Linked DNA regions of Homo sapiens: region 1 is linked to region 2. Evidence: promoter capture Hi-C in human tissues and cell types (Jung and others, 2019). All regions are on one chromosome and are shown on one strand. The core of a region is centred on a gene start or on the middle of the fragment in contact, and the rest is flanking DNA. Distances in the headings are between cores, read along the strand shown.

The links. The method cuts DNA at HindIII sites, captures the fragments that hold promoters and counts their contacts. A contact is called where the count stands out against the background at its distance.
Region 1: a contact is called between a fragment that was not itself captured here and the fragment with the promoter of ZIC5 in region 2, in 1 of the 25 tissues and cell types used here (H1 embryonic stem cells).

The regions. Positions count from the first base shown.
Region 1 is chr13:100,572,823-100,577,761 of GRCh38, forward strand. All of the region lies in intron 2 of GGACT (gamma-glutamylamine cyclotransferase), which reads right to left. Among named protein-coding and RNA genes, the nearest start is that of GGACT, 13 kb to the right of the region's middle. The HindIII fragment of the contact is 4,454 bases long and covers 1-3,778 here.
Region 2 is chr13:99,968,900-99,973,834 of GRCh38, forward strand. It overlaps ZIC5 (Zic family zinc finger 5), which reads right to left and starts at 2,868. Exons shown (of 2, transcript NM_033132.5): 1 at 1,228-2,868. The coding sequence starts at 2,704. The HindIII fragment of the contact is 23,774 bases long and covers 1-4,935 here.

The DNA of each region.
Region 1 (4,939 bases), core at 302-2,801, 600 kb after region 2:
CATTTTGCTGCCCAGAGCTGTAGCTGTATCTAGCTTCAGGGTGTACTCTAGAACTTGCTTTCCTGAACGAATATCTGGGGTTTCTTAGGATACAGCTGCTAAAGGAAAAAAATAGAACTTGACATCTTTTGCTATATAATGGCATCTTTTATTAATACCCTTGGAGAAGCATAGGGTATTAAGGCTGGAAAAAGTTTAGAAAGTACATTTTAAAGTTGAATATGAAATCTACACTTCAATCCAACTAAAAGATTTTTCTAAGACCATATAGGTAGCAATCACAAGAAGAGTGGGAGAGAAGCGGCATCTTCCCAGTTTCCTCTACAATCCTCTTGACACCCACAGTCCACTGGACTTAGCTCTCCACAAGTCCTTACCTTTGAACGTCACTGTTTACTACACTGCCACCAGGGGGCAGCAGCTATATTAGTCTGGTATTCTAAACACCCTGGACTAAGGCCCAATACTCTTCCATTACCCCTTCCCCCATCCCATGAAATATGTGCATATATGTGCATATATGTGACTTCATTGAAACAATCTCAATAAGCCAGAAGTTTAAAAGAGACCCATATATAACTTTTTAAACAAAACAAAGACTTGAGTCCAATGGATGTAACACCCTTACTAATCCTTTACTATTTCTGATTTATTCCAATCCCAACAGATGTAATGGTCAATTAATATGTTAGGTTCTTTATTTGTTTGTTTTGAGAGATGGGGTCTCAGTATGTTTCCTAGGCTGGTCTCAAACTCCTGGGCTCAAGCAATCCACACGCCTCAGCCTCCTAAAATGCTAGGATTACAGGTGAGGGCCACTGTGCTTGGCCTAATATGTTAGTTTTAAAACAAAAACTACTCGAACACAGGATCAACAAGCAAAAAACAAATAAACCCATTAAAAATGGGCAAAGGACATGAACAGACACTTCTGAAAAGAAGACACACAAGTGGCCAACAAACATACCCAAAAAAGCTCATCTTCACTAATCAGAGAAATGAAAATCAAAACCACAATGAGATACCATCTCACACCTGTCAAGATGGCATTATCAAAAAGTCAAAAAAAAAAAAAAAACATGCTGGCGAGGCTGTGGAGAAAAGGGAATGATTATACACTGTGGAAATGTCAATTAGTTCAGCTACTGTGGAAAGCAGTTTGGAGTTTTCAGAGAACTTAAAACAGACCTACCTAGCAATCCCATTACTGGGTACACATCCAAAGGAAAATAGATCATTCTACCAAAAAGACACATGCACTCATATGTTCATTGCTGTACTATTCACAACAGCAAAGACATGGAACCAACATAGGTGTCCATCAACAATGGATTGGACAAAAAATGTGGCACATATACACCATGGACTACTACAGTCATAAAACAGAAAGAAATCATGTCCTTTGCAGCAACATGGATACAGCTGGAAGCCATAAGCTTAACTGAATTAACACGGGAGCAGAAAACCTGGCCGGGCGTGGTGGCTCATACCTGTAATCCCAGCACTTTTTGGGAGGCTGAGGCCGGTGGAATCACTTGATGTCAGGAGTTTGAGACCAGCCTGGACAACATGGCAAAACCCTGTCTCTACTAAAAATACAAAAATTAGCTGGGTGTGGTGGTGCACACCTGTAGTTCTAGCTACTCAAGAGGCTGAGGCAGAAGAATCGATTGAACCTGGGAGGCAGAGGTTGCAGTGAGCTGAGATTGCACCACTGCACTCCAGCATGGGCAACAGAGCGAGACCCCATCTCAAAAAAGAAAGAAAACCAAATACCACGTTCTCACTTATAAATGGGAGCTAAACACTGAGCACACATGGACATAAACCTGGGAGCAAGAGCCAGTGAAGATACTAGAGCAGAGAACGGAGGGAGGCAGGGGTTGAAAATGACCCACTGAGTACTATGTTCACTACCTGGGTACAATATGCTCTGTAAAAAACCTGCACAGGTACCTCCTGTATCTAAAATAAAAGCTGAACTAATAAAAAGAAATTAACAGAACTGCTTCCTCCAGAATATCATATAATATATAAATCATACTTATGTGTATTAAAAAAAAAAGAGACAGAAATCTATCCAATTTAACACTTGAAACCAAATCTTCCCTACACTTGGCCTCTGAGGTTTCAGCCACAGCAACCTCAAGAGCCCATCTGATGTCTGTCCTCAGTCTTCCTTTGTCAGCTCAGTTTTTCCTTTGTGATGTCCCTATATTAGAAAGGAAGGTCTGCCAATAGGTCGAACCCTCCAGCAACTTTTCAGAAGGAAAAACAGGGAGATTCCAGTCACAAAATAAAACCTATATGCTAACGTTCTTCCAAGTAGATGACAGGAATCTTCGTTCTGTGTCTTTTAAATACTACCACCAACTGAGAGCCTATACCATAGCAGTTAACGGGTGAGGTTTGAATTTACAGAAGGACCTCCATTAGCAATGACCTGTGTACCCAGAGACTTTCCCAGTTTCATCGTAGGGGAGGAGTGAGAGATGACAAACATTAACAGTGGCATTTTAGTAACTAATCTAGGAGTCAACTCCAGACTTTCAACCAATAGTGATCAGAGACTACTGTTCCTAAATCAGACAAAGAGATAGATGCATGATTTTTGTTTCACAAATTTCGACTTGTTTTCTTCTTTGAGCTCACCATGTTTTAATAAGGAAAAAGGTATTCAAATGCAAACTTTGACTACTGCTTCAGACACACTGGAGCAGCCCATTAAAAAAACTATGATGGGATCAGCCCAGGCAACATAGCAAGGCTCCATCTCTACAAAAAATTTAAGTTAGCAGGATGTAGGTGGTGCACAACTGTGGTCCCAGCTACTTGGGAGGCTGAGGCAGGAGGATCACTTGAGCCCAGGAGGTCGAGGCTGCTGTGAGCTGTGACTATGCCATTGCACTCCAGCCTGGGTGACATAGTGAGACCCTGTCTAAACAAACAAACAAACACTACAATGGTGTTTGCTACAGTTAAAGGGCATTCAAACAAATTACTCTCTGCTGACATCCAGTTTGTTCTCATGTAATCAACTATTCATCGACCGATCCAATCTAGCATAAAACTGATGGCAAAAGCAAACATGGCACTACTAGTTACTACTACTAATGGTCAAACAGGAATGAGATGCTCAGGAATGAAATGCATATAATGAATGGATCTTGCATTGCAAAATGCATTGTGAATTCAGTTATTATTTTGTAATACTTTGCCAAATATAATCTCTTAATTAGTGAGATTTGAGAATGACTCTTATCTATATAATATCCTGGCTTTTTCAGTATACTTACCATATTTCAATGTAAAAAATCAGAAAACCAATATTTATTTTGAAAACAGGTATATGAATTTAATCCAATAACTTGTAAGAGAATTATTAAAAACAAATTTTTGTAATCTCAAAAACCTAATAAAAATAACACATCTATTAGGATGGCTCAAATAAAGAAACACCAAATTGATAACATGAGATGCTGAGAAGGATGTGAAACAACTGGAACTCTCACCATTGCGGGTGGGAATGCAAAGCAGTACAGGCATGGTGGAAAGTGTCTTATAAAATTAAATCTAGAACTTTCTTACAAAATTATGACCCAGCAATTGCACTCCTAGGAATCTACCCTAGAAAGATGAAAACTTTTCTTCAGATAAAAACCTGTATATAAGTGCTTACAGCAGCTGTATTCAAAATCACCAAAAACTGTAAATAATCCAAATGGCCCTCCACTGTGAATGGATACATACAATGCAGTACATCCAGACGATGGCGATAAGAAAGGACATACACACAAACAAATCTCAAAGTTGTCGTCGAAGTGAAAAATCAGCCTCAAAGGTTGCATATTATATCATTTCATTTACATGACATTCTGGAAAAGGCACAACATACGAAGATGAACAAATCAAAGCTGTCAGGGTTTGAGGAAGGGGTGGGTTAGACTACAAAGGGGCAGAATGAGGGAGGGTTTGTTTTGTTTCCTGGCTTTTTGGTGATGGGACTGCTCTGTATACCGTTGGTGATGGCCAGTACAAGAATCCACACATTTTAAAGCTATTCACATTGTACAAACAAGTTGGTTTTACTGTAAACTTAATAATAATGAATGAAAGCATGAGAGCATGCAACTACTCTAAAACAGTTTAAAAATGAAAGGTAAAAGAATAAGAACACTCTGAATCAAATTAATGCCTGGCATACAAAATTATTTTTAAAAGAGACAAGAGATACATAAACCAAATACAATAGATGGGATTTAAAAATTCTGACTTGAATAAACCAACTGTACAGACCTTGTTTTAGAAAAATAGGCCGGGCAGTGGCTCACACCTGTAATCCCAGCACTTTGGGAGGCTGAGGACGGCGGATCATCTGAGGTCAGGAGTTCAAGACCAGCCTGGCCAACATGGTGAAACCCCATCTCTACTATAAATACAAAAATTAGCCAGGCGTGGTGGTGGGTGCCTGTAATCCCAGCTACTCGGGAGGCTAAGGCAGGAGAATCACTTGAACCCAAGAGGCAGAGGTTGCAGTGAGCCAGGATCACGCCATTGCACCCCATCCTGGGTGACAAGAGCGAGACTCCATCTCAAAAATAAATAAATAAATAAATAAATAAATAAATAAAAAGAAAAAGAAAGGAAATTGGGATAAAATATTAAAAGATGTTAAGGAATATTTTTTCATTGTTGGACAGAATTATATTTATGTAAAAAACCCTCAAAATTCATAATAAAATATTTGGGGGTGAAATGACATGATTTCTGGCATTTGCTTCAAAACTCTAGAAACAAGCAAACAAAAGTCCAAAACACAAAGGGAGGAGGGCACGTGGAACAAGCATGGCAAAGCCAGTATGGTGCAGTGATCTCTGATCCCGGGTGGGTGGCACATGAGGGTTACTATACTGTACTTTTGAGTATGTCTGGAAATGTT
Region 2 (4,935 bases), core at 1,618-4,117:
CGCTGCTGCCCCCGCAGAGCCCCGAGCGCCCCCGGCCCGAGCGTGGGACCCGGCGGCTACCTCCTGGCCGCAGCAGCGCCGATAAATCTGCCAAGTGATTACTGAACGTAAACTCCAGTTACTTAAGTGTCCTCCGAGGGGTAATCGTATCTGTCCCTATAAATCCCGACTGCGTTCGCGCTCATCAGCGCTTCCGCCCGACGCGCTGGTCCGCTCAAAGGGGGCACACGACCCACAGGAGCCATCCACCGCCTCGCGCCGCAGCCGCCCTCCTCAGCGCTGTGGGATCCCCAGAGGCAGGGCTTGAGGTGGGGTGGGAGGGTCCCCACGACGCCGGTGGCTCCCCACCAATTCCACGACAGGGTAGGCCTCACCGATGGTGGGAGGCTCGGGTCCTCCTACAACTAGAACCTTCTCTAGAAAGGCAGATGTCAACTCCAGCACCCTCCAGGGCGAGTGTGATACTGCGTGTGAGAGGGCGCGTGGGGCGTGTAAATGATGTGAGTGTGAGGACACACAGGTGTCGCGGGAATGGGGTGCACGCGCAGGAGGATATGAGTGTGTAAAGTTGTGGGAGACGCACGCAGAAGAAGGTGTGCGTGAAGAGTGTGTCACGGTGGGCGAGTGCGAGTGGTCTCCGGGGTTCCGAAAGCGCATTCCTGTCTTCCCGGAGGGGTCCCTTCCCCTCCCGGAAGGCCTGCCTCGGGCGGCCCAAATCCGGCAGCAAATCCCACGCCCGGTCCTCGGAGCGCGGAGACTGCGCGGGGCCTACGACCCGGTGGGAAGAGAGGCGCTTGCCGGGGCGGCCCGGCCTCTCTTTCCATCGCCCTCCCAGACTTCCCAGGGCCGGGCGGGTGGGGACTGCCGACCGTCCTGGGCGCCTTCCTGCTCCAGCTGCTGCTGCGTCTGCTCCGAGGTGGCGGCGGCGGCGGCTGGCGCGCGTTGCGGGTCCCGGCCGAGGGGCTGCGGGCGCGCTGGAGACTCCGCCGTGTGGGAACCCAACGCGGGGCCTGTGTGTGCTATCGAATTACTTATTCATAGAAAAAAAAAAGGGGGGGAGAGAAAAAAAAAGAAGTCACATGTCCGGGTTATACGTATGCGAAGAGAAGCAGCAGAAGGAGAAAAAAATTAAGGCGAGCAGGAGGAGGAGGAGAAGCAGCGGCGGAAGCGGCGGCGGCGCAGGAGCTGGTGGCGGCGGCGGCGGCGCGGCCGGGGACAGACACCCACCTGTATGAGTACGCTTGTGGATCTTGAGGTTCTCGGAGCGCGCGAAGACCTTGCCGCAGCCGGGGAAAGGGCAGGGAAAGGGCTTCTCGCCGGTGTGCACGCGGATGTGGTTGATGAGCTTGTATTTGGCCTTGAAGGGCTTGCCCTCGCGCGGACAGTCCTCCCAGAAGCAGACGTGGCTGCTCTGCTCGGGGCCTCCCACGTGCTCCACCGTGACGTGATTCACCAGCTCGTGCATGGTGCCGAAAGTTTTGGAGCAGGGCTTGGCGCCGCCGGCCGGGGGCGGTGGCGGCGGCGGCGGCGGCGGCGGCGGCGGCGGCGGCAGCCCGGCCAGCTCGTCGGGGTCGATCCACTTGCAGATGAGCTCCTGCTTGATTGGCTGCCGCATGTAGCGCAGGAAGGCCCCAGCCGCCCCTGGGAGGTGGGGGTGGTGCTGGTGCGGGTGCTGCGCGGGCGCCGGCGGCGGCGGCGGCGCCGGGGGCGGCGCGTGGTGCTGCAGGTGGGGCCCGGGCCCGGCCGCTGCTGCGGCCGCCGCAGCCGCCAGGTTCAGGTTTAAGTTCACGGCTCCGTAGCCGTGCAGGGCGGCCGCCGCTGCGGCCGCAACCGCCCCGTAGTGCGCGTCCCCAGAGCGCGGCGCGAAGGGCGGTTCGGCGCGGCCGTACAGCTCAGCCGCCGCGGCTGCCGCTGCCGCCGCCAGCCCCAGGCGCATCTGGCCGTTGAGCGGGTGCGGGTGGCCGCCTGGGGCCCCCGGCGTGTCGTGCAGCGCGGGGAAGAGCGCCGGGCCGCCGCTGCCGTCCGGGCCCGCGTAGGTGCCGCTGGCGGAGATGAACATGCCGGCCGAGTGGGGAGGCGGGGCCGGGTGCTGGGGGGAGCCGGTGCCGGACCGCTGCTCCCCTCCGAGCGGGGCCCCGTGCATGGCCGCCGCGGGGGCCGTGGCGGAAAGGTCCCTCCGGAGGACGAAGTCCCTGCTGTGGCCTTTGCCGCTGCTGCCGCCGCCGCCACTGTTGGTGGTGGTGTAGCCCGAGAGGGCAGGAGGAGGAGGAGGCGGGGGAGGGGGAGGGGGTGAAGGGGTGGGAGGAAGAGGAGGGGCTGGGGGCGGGGGCGCGGAGGGCTGCGCGCCACTGCTGCCCCCGCCGCAGGGGTAGCTGCCCGCGCCGGGGTGCGCGACCAAGGCTGCAGCACGGGCGGCGGCTGCCGGAGCCTCCGGGTGTGCCGGGAACGCCTGGGAGGGAGGGCTGAGGCCCAGCGTGCTCGCCTGGGCCATGTGCTCGGGTCCGAGCGGAGTGGTGGCCACGCCGGGGTCAGCGCCCAGGTCCCGCAGGCGGAGGTGCGCGACGGCGGCCCGGAGTTGGGAGTGGGCGGGCGGGCCGGCCAGCGCCGGGAAGCCTGTCATATTCTGAAGCGGCTGGACCTGAGCCGTTGCCAAATCCGCTAATCTCAGCGCTGGCGGGTTCCTCTTGCTCAAAGGGGGCTCCATCAGAACTACACAATCAGGCCCATAGACCCTCACTGGGGGGACTTTATTCCCTCTGCCCGCCTTCAAAAACATGTATGTATTGGGCGCTCTTTAACTTCTTTTGTCCTGGCCTCTTAACTCTGCTTATTCCTGTTCCCACTCTATCCTCCAGCGATTGGCAGAGTGAACACCACATTTGAGCTGCACAGTGGGACCGAGATTTTGGAAATGGCACGGGTGGGATTGGAGGGAGCCGCGTGATTGGCAGTAGCCTCGGCTGCTCGATTGGCTCCCGTTCAGGCCCTCGACCCAGCGGGGATTCGCCCCCGTGCTTGCGGCCGCCTGCGCTTTCGCTTCGCGCCCCCTCCTCCGCTGGAGCCACACGTCCCCGCCTCCCCGGGGATGCCCAAGTTGCACTTGCAGAAAGTTTGAGCCTGGCCTGCGCGCGCAGCGCCCCGCTCTTCCTTGACGCACCTCGCGGAGCGCGCGCCGGCACGCGGGCAGAGGGCGCGGGGTGGTGAGGGGCTGAGGACCCCCGAGGGGCAGTCCCAGTTTCAAAAACCTTGGCCTCACTTCTCTGTGTGCCTTCTGGCACCCAAGTACTTTCTGCCTCTACCTCCACCTCTCTTGTGGGGTGGAAGAGCCCTGGGCTGCTGTTTGGGAGAGAAGGGTGAATAGCCCGTCCTACCTGTAGTGGTGATGCTAGAAACTTCTTGTTTGGACACCCAACCTGCCTAGCGCTCACCTAGGGCGCATAGACAGTAGACGGAGTGAAGAAGATAAAGTCTATTGGTTGCAAGACAACTTGAGTGATTTGGCTCCGCGAAACACCAGGTGAAGTCAAAATAAGTCTTTCCCCCAAAGGAACCGTTTTACCTCGACTTTTTATCTCATGGAGAGTCCTTTTCAACATGGTTCAAAGGAGTTGGATGGAAGTGTAATCTCACTACTCATCGGTTCTAGATCTGCCACTTCCAATTAGATCTACAGTAGGGGCGGGGGAGAGGAGATCGGGCAGCGATTCTAACTTTTGCCTTTCGGAGATACAGTGGCGGGGCAGGCCAAACGGCATCTCTGCAGAGAGAAGCCGCTAAATAAGCACCGTCCTTTAAGTAGAATTTCTCCTTCCGGTCCAGATCCCAGTCCACAGTCCACATGTATGCCTCAGTTTCTTTGACTGATCCACAATTAGAACTGATCCAATAAAATATTATTTTGAAATCAAGAAATATCTTTGCTTTTTATTTACTGATAGAATAATCTTTCACCTTTTTATCGTTTTCTCATAAACCAGTCTACCTCTAAGATGTCTTATTTGAAAACCATAAAAACTGGCTTTTAAAAAAGCGAATCCCATCCCTTTCCAGAGGTTTGGTATCAAATCGATTTTTTAAAAATAGAAATTCCCTGCATCACTTTTTGGTGGGCGGAGAAATGTGGGACCCTCCCCCCAAATTAAGGATTTTACTGCCCCAAAAGTGTCCTTTTCAGATTTTAAAAGAAAGCATTTTTGAAATTTGTGATGTTACAAAATGCTCAAATATTAAAGCCAGGATTTTAAAATTTGTATTTTGCTGTCATCCGTAACATTACTTGTAAAAAAAAAAAAAGTGATAATGATTAGAATGTGATCTTTTTCTTTGGGGATACAATAAAATATGTTTCCAACTTAATTCATTTGCAGTCCAAGTAAAAGTAGACTGCACAAAGCCGTTATTGGGGAGATGGCCGTGGGAAGTAATCAGAAATATTCTGAAAAGAGTTGATTCGATAGTGCCATTCACATTGGTGTGAACGATGTTTAACAGGGGGCTTCGGTATGAGACTTAGGAATGTCATTTCTTTTATAAAACTGACAAGCAAACAAAGACAATGCTACCATCAAATTTCAAATGGACTTTTTCTTTAAGTTGCAATGAAGTTCAAATATGGGGAATTAAAGGCATGTGTGGAAACACAACGAAAAAATTTTAATAAACAGCAGTAACAAAATCTTCATCTCACTTTGGAAACGACGAGTCCTTTCACAATTTTTATGTCAAAGACTTAAAACATTTCAAGCCAACCAGGCAAAGGTTGATCGAGAGCTGTGCCATCTCTATGGATAGTTTATGGAGAAAGCATCATATTTGGAATTATCACTGTCATCGTTTCCTCTCTGAACATTTCCAATGAGTTTCCTTTATTTGAATTTCTTGGCAATAAGCATTAATTCTTGCAGTAATGGCAGCTTTGGGTTCAATCCTGCAGGT